Linked DNA regions of Homo sapiens: regions 1, 2 and 4 are each linked to region 3. Evidence: promoter capture Hi-C in 16 types of primary human blood cells and fetal thymus (Javierre and others, 2016). All regions are on one chromosome and are shown on one strand. Each heading gives the region's core, a stretch centred on a gene start or on the middle of the fragment in contact. The rest is flanking DNA. Distances are from core to core; before and after follow the strand shown. Region 1 has its middle 230 kb from the start of GRXCR1. Region 2 overlaps GRXCR1 (glutaredoxin and cysteine rich domain containing 1). Region 3 holds the start of KCTD8 (potassium channel tetramerization domain containing 8). Region 4 has its middle 190 kb from the start of GRXCR1.

Region 1 (3,202 bases), core at 354-2,853, 1.3 Mb after region 3:
AAGACATGTGTAACTTTCTTACAGACTCAGATGTTTTTAAGGAAATCAATTTCCAGATTCTCAACTTTCATAATTTGTCTTTATAAAAACTTACCTAACTGGGAGCATTCCTGCATCCACAATACCTGTTTTTCACTTTTACAGAAAAGATACAGCCCTCACCCATCCAAATAAACATATAGTTGAAAATATTTATTTTATATATCTCTCTTTTAGTTATTAATCAACCAAAATGTAATAAATACACAGGGCTTCTTTTTTCTTATTTTTATATGTTTTTGTTAAGGTGGACACATAATACTATAATGGAACACTATGTCGTGAGTTGGAATCTTCTGAGTTCAAATGTTGTGAAATAGAGTGGGTGACAACAATTTTTGTTTGACAACTTTTTCTCTTTTATTTCAGGCTATTGTCAAAGAAGGTGTAAAGTCTGAGGTAAAATCTCATAAAAATAAAGCAGAGCATTGGAAATAGATATTGAACCCTAAAAATGCTTTTTTTTGATAATTTGCTTTGTATATTCTAACTACTCATCTCCAGAATTTGTCATTAACTTTTTTTTAAAAAGCAACTTAAAAACAGATACAGTAGCAAAGGCTTATGATATTGGTTCTTCAAACATAACAAATGTTTTGAAAGACTACCATGGCTTTCCTGACACATTGAATAAAATTCACAGGTAAAACTCATATAATTACTGTCAGAGTTGGTATTTAGAATTCAATATGATAATTAAAACCAATAATCTCAAGTGAAATCATGAAACATTTACTCCTTTTATTTTTAATTATCGTACAATATACTTACCTTTTTCTTATTACTATGAAAAATTAACATATGCCAACTATCAGTGTCTTAATTTTCAGTACTAGGTATTGTTTCCTTTTATAGAAGACAGAGAAAATTAGATTCTAGCATCTAACAAAGTTAATATGGTTCTTTTCATTTTAAATCATTAATTTTTATTGTATTATTTCCAAACCCAAACAAATGAATTTGCTATATATATACATTTATTAAAGTAACAGCATGCCTATTGTGGGTTGGATTGTGTCCCTGAAAAATATACTGAAATCCTTACCCCCAGTAGCTGTGAATTGAACTTTTTTTGGAAATAGGGCCAGTGTAGATGATCAAGTTAAGATGAGGTCACTTGGTTGGGCCCTAATCCAGTATGACCAGTATAATCCAGTATGACCTGTGTCCTTATAAAAAAGGTAAAATGTGGACACATATACAAACACATATAGAGGAAAGATGATGCGAAAGCACAGGGAAAAGTCCATCTACAGCTATGTAATGCCTAAGGCTACCGGAAGCTAGGGGCAAGCCCTGGAACAGATTCTCCCTCATAGCACTCAGAAGGAATCAGTCCTGCTGGCATCTTGATTTCAGACTTTCAGCCTACAGAACTGAAGACAATACATTTCTCTCTTAAAAGGCTTCTAGTTTGTAATATAAAAAACTAATACAATGCCTTTTATCATATGTCTTATTTTATAAATAACAATTTTCACAAAATATTGTATAATATATGTATAAAAAAATCATATTGATTTATTTTGAATTAATTATATAAGATGCAAATTAATTACATTGCATTTACCACATTTCCACCTTGATTAGGCTGCTTATAATGTATATTTTAAAGTGCTATAATTTTATTTTTTTATTTTTATTTTTATGGGTACATAGTAAGTGTGTATATTTATGGGATACATGAGATTATTTGATACAGGCAAGCAATGTGGAATAAGCACATCATGGAGAATGGGGTATCCATCCCCTCAAGCATCTATCCTTTCAGTTACAAACAATCCAATTACACTATTTAAGTTATTTTAAAATGTACGATTAAGCTATTATTGACTATAGTCACCCTGTTGTGCTGTCTAACAGTAGGTCTTATTGATTTTTTCTAACTACATTTTTGCACCCCTTAATAATCCCCACCTTCCCTGCCCAGTCCCCTACAACCGTTCCCAGCCTCTGGTAACCATCCTTCTACTCTCTCTGTCCATTAGTTCTATTGTTTTGAGTTTTAGATCCCACAAATAACTGAGAACATGCAATTTTTGTGTCTCTGTATCTGGCTTGTTTCACTTAACACAATAATTTCCAGTTCCATCCATGTCATGGCAAATGACTGGATCTCATTCTTTTTTGTGGCTGAATAGTACTCCATGTGTATATGTACCACGTTTTATTAATCCATTCATCTATTGATGAATGCTTACATTGTTTCCAAGTCTTAGCTATTATAAACAGTCCTGCAACAAATATAGGAGAGCAGATATCTCTTTGATATACTGATTTCCTTTCTTTTGGGCATATACACAGCAGTGGGATTGCTGGATCATACAGTAGCTCAGTTTTTAGTTTTTGAGGAACCTCCAAACTGTTCTCCATAGTGGTTGCACTAATTTACAATTCCACCAACAGCATACAAGGGTTCCCTTTTCTCCACATCCTCAGCAGCATTTGTTATTGCCTGTCTTTTAGATGTAAGCCATTTTAACTGGAGTGAGAAGAGATCTCATTGTAGTTTTGATTTGCGTTTCTCCAATGATCAGTATTGTTGAGCACTTTTTCATATGCCTGTTTGCCATTTGCATGTTGATATGGTTTGGCTGTGTCCCCACCAAAATCTCAACTTTAATTGTATCTCCCAGAATTCCCACGTGTTGTGGGAGGGACCCAGGGGGAGGTAATTGAATCATGGGGACCGCCTTTCCCATGCTATTCTCATGGTAGTGAATAAGTCTCATGAGATCTGATGGGTTTATCAGGGGTTTCCACTTTTGCCTCTTCCTCATTTTCTCTTGCTGCCACCATGTAAGAAGAGCCTTTTGCCTCCTGCCATGATTCTGAGGCCTCCCCAGCCATGTGGAACTATAAATTAAACCTCTTTTTCTTCCCAGTCTTGGGTACATCTTTGTCAGCAGCAAGAAAATGGACTAATACAGTAAATTGGTACCAGTAGAGTGGGGCGTTGATGAAAAGATACCTGAAAATGTGGAAGAGACTTTGGAACTGGGTAACAGGCAGAGGTTAGAACAGTTTGGAGGGCTCAGAAGAAGACAGGAAAATGCGGGAAAGTTTGGAACTTACTAGAGACTTGAGTGGCTTTTATGAAAATGCTAATAGTGACATGAACAATAAGGGCCAGGCTGAGATGGTCTGAGATGGAGATGAGCAA
Region 2 (3,404 bases), core at 743-3,242, 1.4 Mb after region 3:
CCAAGAGGCAAAAACTCAAATAAGAGAGCGAGCTTGACCTTCTGCAAAGTCTACCATCAAGCCCTACGCCCAATTATCTACTGAGGCACGATGGGACTTAGCTCTTGCCCAAGGTGAATTTAAAAACAATAATGAGATAATCATATTTAAAACAAGCAAAAGAGCAAAGTAGAGACTCACTAAAAGTATATTTTATATTTTACTGCATACACAGCTAATTGTACACCGGGGGGAAAAATGGACAGTGTTACAAAGGCATCCTATCGTCTTTAAAAGATAGAAGTTGACATGGTGAAACCTTGTCTCTCCAAAAAAAAAAAAAATACAAAAATTAGCTGGGCACAATGAGGGCTCCCTGTAATCCCAGCTACTCAGGAGGTTGAGGCAGGAGAACTGCTTGAACCCGGGAGGTAGAGGTTGCAGTGAGCCGAGATAGCACCACTGTACTCCAGCCTGGGCAACAGAGTGAGGCGCCTTCTCAAGAAAAAAGTGAAAAAAGAGAGAAGTTGAAGAAAGAGAAAAACACCTATAGCTATAAATACAGTCCAAGTATACGGCTAAAAATATACGAATTGGTAATATAGTCATCACCACTTTTCCCCATATGTTTTAGTAATGACACAATCAGAGTAGGCTTATACAGTAGTGCTCCCTTCTCTGGAGGATACATTTCAGGACCCCCTCGTGGATGCCTGAAACCAAAGATGGTACGGAAGCCTATATATACTGAGGTTTTCTCTGTATATATATATATACCTCTAACAATTTATAAATTAGGCACAGTAAGAGATATCAACAATTAATAGTAAAATAGAATAATTGTAATAATATTCCAGCATCACAACTCTTGCACTTCAGGGTCATTGTGAAGTAGAAAAGGATTACTTGACCATAAGCACTGCTATACCATGAGACTTAGATGCCTTCTTTTTTTTTTTTTTTTTTTTTTTAAGATAGAGCCTCGCTCTGTCACCAGGCTGGAGTGCAGTGGCGCATTCTTGGCTCACTGCAACCTCCTAGTCCCTGGTTCAAGCGATTCTTCTGCCTCAGCCTCCTGAGTAGCTGGGATTACAGGTGTGCACCATCACACCCAGCTAATTTTTGTATTGTTACTAGAGACAGTTTCACCATGTTGGCCAGGATGGTCTCAATCTCCTGACCTCATGATCCACCTGCCTCGGCCTCCCAAAGTGCTGGGATTACAGGTGTGAGCCACAGTGCCCACCCCCTTAGACGCCTTCTAAGTGAGTAACAGGCAGAAAGCATGTATAGTGTGGAGACACTGGACAAAGAGATGATTCACATGCCAAGGGACAAAGCAGGATAGTGCAAGATTTTATCATACTACTCAGAACGGTGCACAACTTAAGATTTATGAATTGCTTATTTCTGGAATTTTCCATTTAATGTTTTCAAACTGCAGTTGACTGTGAGTAACTGAAACCATGGAAATCAAAACTTTGGATTGTTTGGGGAATACTGTGTATCACGAAAGGTGAACAAAGACACATTAACCAGAAACTAAATTCCAGCAACCATCTGATAGCAAACAATCTTAGGAATTTAGTAGGTTTATTGTCTTTTACCGATGCATACAAACAATTGAGCCAACCATGTACTTTAGGCTGCATCAAGTTGTCTACTTTTTAGATACTGTTAGTGAATTAAAGCTGTTTTCTTAATTTAGTGTGCAATAAACTTTAAATGGGTTTTTAACAATTCCTAATAGTTGTACCAAGCAATCAGACTTTAAGGAAAAAATCTGAATTATGGAGAATGGCCTGATCTTGGGATATCTTGAGGGAAAAAGTGGACCTGAGGATGGGAGAGGCATAGGAGCCAAAGACAGCAAAGGAGAATGGCCTCACTGTTGTATAGGAAATAAAGAAAGATGCTTTGTTTTTACTTCCAAAGAAAGGGGAGTGGATGGAAGAGACTTGGAAAGGTGAGGATGAGGTGACAGTATGTGCAGTGACAAGATGGGACCAACTAAGGCTGTGTGGTGAAGAAGCCTGAAAGGCTGTGCAGTCGAAGGACCTTGAAGAAGCTCATGTTTAAGTGGAAGCTGTCTTTTTTAGTACAAAGCAAGACCCTCCTTTGTCTCTCCTCACACCCAACTCTGAGCATTGAGTAAATTCTATACACACATGCTTTGTAGGTATGATGTGCAGAGAAACCAGAAATGAGCTGAATTTAACATCAAGGTTGACTGTAGTGCAGGACACAGACTATACAAAGAAGAAATACACCTGAGGCAGAAAGGATCATAAGAATGCAAGCCTGCCTGCCCTCATCACTCCTTCATTCTCAATAGTGGACATGCACCAAGAATGCAGTTTTGCAGCTTTTAATATTTCCTATATCCTAAGTGGTCAGGGACCTCGGTTGTTATCTGGATTGTGCACCTATGAAGTCATTTCTTCCTAAGTTCTATTGACTTAAAATACTTTTTGACAGCCAAGAAGGATCTAATATAGGTACCGGACATCAAGTCACCAATGTTAGCTGTATTGCATGCCTGGGAAAGCCAAATCTACCAATTTGCCAATCATTTTTTAAAGTAAACTCTCAAAACTTATCTCTGACACACAAAATTCCAACTATTGACCATAGTCAAGAAGAATGATCAAAAAGGTGAAAAACATTTCTTCTGTTTAAATTTCCATTTTCAGAGGTAATTATTCCTTGAAACAAGACCCTCTGCCTTATGGAAAAGTCAGAACACATGAAATGTTTGGGACAGATGATGTCCTGTCAGGAAATGCCACAAACATGAAATTCAAGCATGTCGGCCCAAATGCAAACCTGCTGTGTTTTCTTTATTTTTTATGAAGAACCACAAACAGACATTTTTTTCCTTACAAGCCTGGCCATTTTGACAATGTTTAGTCAATCATTAACATTTTTACAATGTATCTTTCACTTGCGTTTTTGTGATATTGTCTTCAGAGACTGTCCTTTCCATATTTTCTATTATTTTCCAGATGTGTGGAGGTAGTATTTATACTCTACTTAATTACATGTGCATGGAACATTTGTACATGAATAAAAATGTGGCACTCTCCATTTATAGATTAGAAGTTTTGGTGTATTCTTTTCAAGTTTATCTTTATTAAGAAAGGGGTCAGCCAACAGAAGAAAAGTAAGAATGGAAAGGAAGTGGATGAATTTGCTGATGTTTTTCAACAGAGCAGAGTTAAGTGATAGGAAACATATTTTTATGGACTCACGTTCAGAAGGCCCTGTTTTAAACTTTGCTCTATCATCTCCTGGCTGTGAAATGTTGGCTGTGAAATGAGGCTCACCCAGCCTCAGTCCCTTTATTTGGAAAATGGGGGTAATAATTGCATTTACCTCATCAAACTGGAAGGACCATTGTGCCTGACATAAAGTAAGAAATATAC
Region 3 (3,158 bases), core at 115-2,614:
TTTGATACTTTTTTGGGTGGTTTGAAGAAAAGGAGTTGTTAGTAGGCATTTAACTTTTTAAAAAATATTAAAATCTGTATATCGACTGCTAATGGATAAAGTTCATCTGTAATATTGTTATGATAATTGAAGCAAACTACTTTGTGCCACAATACACCCTTTTCTCTTTTGTACTTCATAAATCAATGATTCTTTATGTTTCTGAACACAGATGTATGCCCCAGGGTAGAAGAAATATTTCTCATTTGCTTTCCTATTTTCAGTCTTTATCACAAGTAATGCTCATTTTGCAGACTGTACCTGTACTATGTACACATGGAAATTAAGGTGAGCTTAAATTCATATAATTTTTATTTGTGACCTTACTCTTGGGGTTAGAAGACTAATAAAAATATCAGCCACTTCTCTTGTTTGATGGAGCTGAAAGGGAAATGGAGAGATTAATGAGACTGATCAGGATTAGAAAGAATGAACAAATCGAGTAAATTTCCTCTCGGGCTCCGTCTCTCCCTCTATAAACATTTATTAAGCATCTAATTTAAAACTAAAAATTGTAAAAATGTCGGAAGGAAACAGTTGTTACATACACTCCTTTATTATTGTGAACTGAAAGCAGATTACAAAGTTTTAAAAATTATTCAAGGATATTCAGTGCACGCAGTCGTGAAATTTGATTCCAAGAGAGGTACGCGCATTTAGCCCTTCACTTAAACTGTATCATAAAGCCACTACAAGAGATGTACCTTCCCACCCTCACGTAATCTTTTTGCAATCACTGCTGGCAAGCCAACATTTGTGGTGATTTCAGATTAGGAGCCTGGCATCTTTGCTATAATCAAAACCTTATTCTCCCCTCTCCGCTCCTCCACTCCTTACCTTAATGAAAGTGCAAAAAACTAGTTTTACTGGGGAGGGAGGCAAGGAAGGAAGGAAGAGAAGAAGGAAAGGAGGGAGGAAAGGGGGTGGCACAGACCCAAGGAGGGAGTGAAATGAAGGAATGAGAGCGCTGTCCCTTTTTCTCGCTTTTGCTTTAGGAGCTCCCTGCCTGCCTGTCCCCGCGGGTCGGGGAGCTGCACCTCTTGCAGGCTCGGCTCTCGGCCCCGCCCCCTAGCGTCGGAGCCCGGGAGCCGCGGCTGCAGCCTATCTCTTTAAATGACAGCTGAGGCTCGGGTCCCAGTCCGGGGCTTGACGTCAGTGCCTCCTCCCGTGCTGCCAGGAGTAGTTAGCGCCACCGTCGGCGCTCCGGCCTCGCGGCACGCTTGCAAGCTGCCGGGGCGGCGAGTTTTCTTTGCTTCGGCCCCTCCTCCCGCCCTCCCCACGGAGAGCCGAGCAGCAGCCCTAGAGCCTCTCGCAAGTCTCTCTCACACTTCCCCGCCCTCGCCCCAAAGGAGCAGCAGCTCCTTCTTGCCTCTCCATTGCCGCCGCCGCACCGGCGGAGCTCCTCTCTCGCGCGTCTCTCCTCCGATGGAGCTCGGGCGCCGCCGACGCCGCCGCTGCCCCGAACCCTGAGCGGGGCCGCCCCGGTCGGAGGAACGCGCCGCCCAGTCCGAGGGCGCAGAGCGCCAGGAGCACGCGGAGGGCTGGGGCGCGGGCTCCGGGAACGAGAAAGTGCAGCTCTCTCGGGTCACTGGGCCGGCGGCGGGGGGACTATGGCTCTGAAGGACACGGGCAGCGGCGGCAGCACCATCCTGCCCATTAGCGAGATGGTTTCCTCGTCCAGCTCGCCCGGCGCGTCGGCCGCCGCCGCCCCGGGGCCCTGCGCACCCTCGCCCTTCCCTGAAGTAGTGGAGCTGAACGTAGGCGGCCAGGTTTATGTGACCAAGCACTCGACGCTGCTCAGCGTCCCGGACAGTACTTTGGCCAGCATGTTCTCGCCCTCTAGTCCCCGTGGCGGCGCCCGGCGCCGGGGCGAGCTGCCCAGGGACAGCCGGGCGCGCTTCTTCATCGACCGGGACGGCTTCCTTTTCAGGTACGTGCTGGATTATCTGCGGGACAAGCAACTCGCGCTGCCGGAGCACTTCCCCGAGAAGGAGCGGCTGCTGCGCGAGGCCGAGTATTTCCAGCTCACCGACTTGGTCAAGCTGCTGTCGCCCAAGGTCACCAAGCAGAACTCTCTCAACGACGAGGGCTGCCAGAGCGACCTGGAGGACAACGTCTCGCAGGGTAGCAGCGACGCGCTGCTGCTGCGCGGGGCGGCGGCCGCCGTGCCCTCGGGCCCGGGAGCGCACGGTGGTGGCGGCGGCGGCGGCGCGCAGGACAAGCGCTCGGGCTTCCTCACGCTGGGCTACCGGGGCTCCTACACCACCGTGCGCGACAACCAGGCCGACGCCAAATTCCGGCGTGTGGCGCGCATCATGGTGTGCGGGCGCATCGCGCTGGCCAAGGAGGTCTTCGGGGACACGCTCAACGAGAGCCGCGACCCCGACCGGCAGCCGGAGAAGTACACGTCCCGCTTCTACCTCAAGTTCACCTACTTGGAGCAGGCCTTTGATCGCCTGTCCGAGGCCGGCTTCCACATGGTGGCGTGTAACTCCTCGGGCACCGCCGCCTTCGTCAACCAGTACCGCGACGACAAGATCTGGAGCAGCTACACCGAGTACATTTTCTTCCGTAAGTTCGCAGCCCCGGCGTTTCCCAGCACCCCTCGCCCCCTGCTGAGCCGCCGCCAGTTTGAGCCCCGCTGGAGGCCCCGCGGGGGTGTCCGGGGCAGGCGCTGGTTAACTCCTTATAGAGAGCGGCTCTCCCTGCACGATTCCCTTATGCAGTAGACACGATTTACATTTCACCGATTCGGATATTTCCGTCTCTACTCCCCCTTTCTAGAACTCAGTAGCACCCAGCTCCCAGCTGTCTACTTGCTGAACTTTATTGATCTTGCCTTCTCGGCCCAGCCCGCTCCCAGATGCCAGGGTCTCCTCGGTTGCGGAGGACAGGGTGGGAGAGACTGGGGCACAGGGCAGGGTGCATAGACCCTCCTCCACCCCTTTGCTTTTGCAGGACTGCTGGGGGTCATTTCATGTGGCCCTCAGTGGTGTCCCTGCAGAGGGCAGGATGCCATAACAAGGCATCGCCTCGCACCACCTGGATCACCTGCTGTTGGTGCAGCTGCCGCGCGGGAGCCTCCAGTTACGGGTGGTTTTCTAGAGGGCAGGGGAGAA
Region 4 (3,430 bases), core at 426-2,925, 1.4 Mb after region 3:
TCATTCCTTTTTATTGTTGAGTAGTATTTCATTTTAAGGATATACTATAATTTTGTAAAACCAGTTACCTGTTGATGGGCATTTGTGCTGTTTCCAGATTTTCACTAAAATTACTATGAATATTCAAGTACAATATTTTATATGCACATATATTTTATAGCTTTGGGTAAGACAAAGATTTTTTACATATAAAACTAAAAACAATCTACAGAAGAACGAATTAAAAATGTTTGCTTTTTAAAAAAACACCGTAAAGAACATGTAAAAGCAAGACAAAGACTAGGAGAAAATATCTGCAAATCATATACATGATAAATGGCTTATTTGCAGAATATATTTTTTCAATCACAAAACTCAATAATAAAACAAAATAAAAATTGGGAAAAGATTTGAATAGACACATTATCAAAGAAGGCTTAAGGGTGGCAAATAAGCATATGAAAATTTGGCAAATACTATTAGTTATTAGGGAAATTCAGAGCAAAACCTCAGAGAGATACCACCACATACTTACTTACTGAAAGTAAAGACTGATCATACCAAGTATTGGAGAGATTGTAGAATGAGAACTCTCATATAATGCTGGAGGGAATTTAACATTGTTATGATCACTTTGGAAAACAATTAGATCATTTCTTAAAATGTATCATTCCCACAGTTTTACTCCTGATATTTACTCAAGAGAAATGAAATAATAAGTCTGCAACATTTTTTTCACTCTCAGGTAATAAAAGTTCATCTAGCCATATTTAGTCATCAAAAGTTTTTATCACTCTCAGGTAATAAAAGTTCCTCTAGCCATATTTAGTCATCAAAATAATCTTTTTATGCTGAGTAAAATTTCCATTTTCACATAGTAATGGAAACTCTAAACTACAGTCAAAATCAAAGCTTCTTCTCTCCCCAAGCTCAGCCTTGCTTAAAGTTGATAGCCTGAAGAGGAAAAGGGTTGCATGACTAACCTCTTCTTAGTCCCTCTTCAGCCATCAAATCCTTCATCCCTACATCACTAGCTGAGAGTTCTGTTCCTTCTGAGGGACTGGCCCAGGAGAAAAACATACCAGGATCTCATATGACAGTATCAGAATAATATGGTTTCCTTTGGTTTAGGTCGAACTGACCTTTTCCTTTTTTTTAAGAGATTATTTGTGGGCTTCAGGGAGATATTCCTTCCATACCACTTCCAGTTGCTGAAATGTCTTGTTGCAGATCCCTGACATCTCTGGCAGGATACTTGTGACTCCTCATCAGATTTGGGAAACCAGATACCATGCCCCTATACATATTCTTCATGGACTAGCTCTCTCATCCATGGGGCTCATATCTCATCCTCAGAAAGTACTAATGCATGGTTCAGCTTAAGTAACTCTGGGAGTCAAGGTTATTGCCAAAATGACAACCTCTTCTCAGAACTGGACACAGTGTCTCAAGATGATGGCTCACAGAAAAGTTTTCTGTAACCCCTGACCTCCAGGGACACAGTTCAAGCTCTCCAAGGCCTTAAGGTGAATGGAATATACCACTAATTTTTCCTCCGTGGGAATTGGCATCAGGACTCTTAGTGCCCTTTTTAAATGTGTTGATGTTAGAGTGTGAAGAAATACTTCTATTTTCCAAACAACAATAACTTCAGCAACTTGAACTCTTTTGACCTTAAAAGGACATGCAGAACTATTTATCACAAAACTGATTTTTGAGCATGTCTTTATAACCCTATTTCATTATGCTCACACCTTACTTTAGAATGCAGAAGTGCTTGCCATATATATATATACACATATATTCATACCTATATTCATACATACATATATGAAAAATTATATAATATATATACACACATACATATATATATGTATACACACATACCTATATCTATGTGTGTGTATAGATACATATATATGAGAAAAGAAATTCTCTTGGGACCAGAAATGGAGATGCAGCTCTAAAAGAAAGAAGCCAACCAGAGGTACAGCTCTAAACAAAAGTAACCTCCATGGATCTGAAGCTGACTCTGCACTAAAGCAGTGAGGAGATCTTTTCTTTAAAAAGAAGAATAATGAAGACATAAAGCACTTGAGAATCCCAAAATATGTGAGGAAATTCAACACCAGCACGTTCCCAGCTAAGGTGGAACAAGGTGACACTTCGACTTCTTGTTTCAATTCTCATACCGTGAACAACTGTCATGGTCTATATAGTGCCATGTTTTTCACACTTTTGTACTTTTTGTTGGTGATTCCCTTGCCTAAAATGGCCCTTAAGCATAATGCTGAAGTGTTGGCTAGCATTCCTAAGAACAAGAGGACTGTGATGTGCCTTTCAGGGAAAATAGGTGTGCTACATGCAATTCTTTCAGGCGTAAATTATAATGCTGTTGGCTCTGAGTTCAATGTGAATCAATCAATAAGACATCTTAAGTAATGTTTGCTTAAACAGAAATATACATAAAACAAGCTTGGGTATTCATCAGTTGATGAAAATGCTGTGACCAGAGGCTTACAGGCACCTAACCTTGTATTTCTCCTAGAAGCAATGGTTCAATAACTCTTAAGTCAGTGTTCCCGGAGCCATTATAGCATATAATTGCTGTGAATAACAAGAGTCAACTGTAAATAAGTAAATAAATAGCAACCATATTAGAAAGAAAAACATGAAACTCCTTATTCACAGACAAATCAGCTCTACCTAGAAAATCCTATAAAAATGGTACTAGAATGTATTAGTATGTTTAGAGAGTTCATGAGATAGTTAATACACAAAAATAAATTGCATTTCCACATAAAAAATCAAGCAATCAGAAACTGAAATTTTTGAAAAAAAATAACAGCACAAAAATATATATATTGCTTATGGATGACCTAACAGAAGAAGTGAAACACCTGTACACAAATACAAAGTATTGCTGAGAGAAATTAAAGACCTATATAAATACAGAGACATATATGTTTATGGAATAGAAAACACAATATAGTAAAGAAATCAATTATCTCCAGACTTATCTAAAGTATCAATGTAATCTCAACCAAAATTCTATCAGAGACTTTTGTAGAATTGACCAGCTGACTCAAATTCACAAGGGAATTCATTAGAACTTAAAATAGCCAAAAATATCTTTAAGTATCTGTGTCAAAAACTTTGGTTCTCAGAACCTCATTTTTCTTATCTGTAGAATGGTAATACAATACATTCCCCATGAGAGCTGTTTGTTGAAGATTCAATGAAAGATGTATGCAGAAACAATTTTCTACAAAAAAAAAGCAGTTTTGATCTGTAATCATGAGTACAACAATAATAAGCTATGATAGTCCATCCTTTAAAGGTAAAAAAGAATACTCCTGAGATCCACATGTGCTCATATCATTTTCATTTCTAACCAAATTACAGAATACTTAAAAAAGAATAAAAGGTGACTTTTACCTGAGAGAGTTCA

The links. The method cuts DNA at HindIII sites, captures the fragments that hold promoters and counts their contacts. A CHiCAGO score of 5 or more calls a contact.
Region 1: a contact is called between a fragment that was not itself captured here and the fragment with the promoter of KCTD8 in region 3, in 2 of 17 cell types (naive B cells and total B cells). The highest score is 9.3, in naive B cells.
Region 2: a fragment that was not itself captured here is called in contact with the fragment with the promoter of KCTD8 in region 3 in 1 of 17 cell types (M2 macrophages); the score reaches 6.2 in M2 macrophages.
Region 4: a fragment that was not itself captured here is called in contact with the fragment with the promoter of KCTD8 in region 3 in 2 of 17 cell types (naive B cells and total B cells); the score reaches 6.3 in naive B cells.

Annotation. Positions count from the first base shown.
Region 1 is chr4:43,121,118-43,124,319 of GRCh38, reverse strand. No RefSeq gene overlaps it. Among named protein-coding and RNA genes, the nearest start is that of GRXCR1, 230 kb to the right of the region's middle. The HindIII fragment of the contact is 6,909 bases long and covers 1-3,202 here.
Region 2 is chr4:42,998,021-43,001,424 of GRCh38, reverse strand. The region is part of intron 2 of GRXCR1 (glutaredoxin and cysteine rich domain containing 1); the gene reads right to left. Among named protein-coding and RNA genes, the nearest start is that of GRXCR1, 110 kb to the right of the region's middle. The HindIII fragment of the contact is 4,303 bases long and covers 1-3,404 here.
Region 3 is chr4:44,447,015-44,450,172 of GRCh38, reverse strand. KCTD8 (potassium channel tetramerization domain containing 8) reads left to right here and starts at 1,364. Exons shown (of 2, transcript NM_198353.3): 1 at 1,364-2,610. The coding sequence starts at 1,650. The HindIII fragment of the contact is 5,511 bases long and covers 1-3,158 here.
Region 4 is chr4:43,085,073-43,088,502 of GRCh38, reverse strand. No RefSeq gene overlaps it. Among named protein-coding and RNA genes, the nearest start is that of GRXCR1, 190 kb to the right of the region's middle. The HindIII fragment of the contact is 1,563 bases long and covers 894-2,456 here.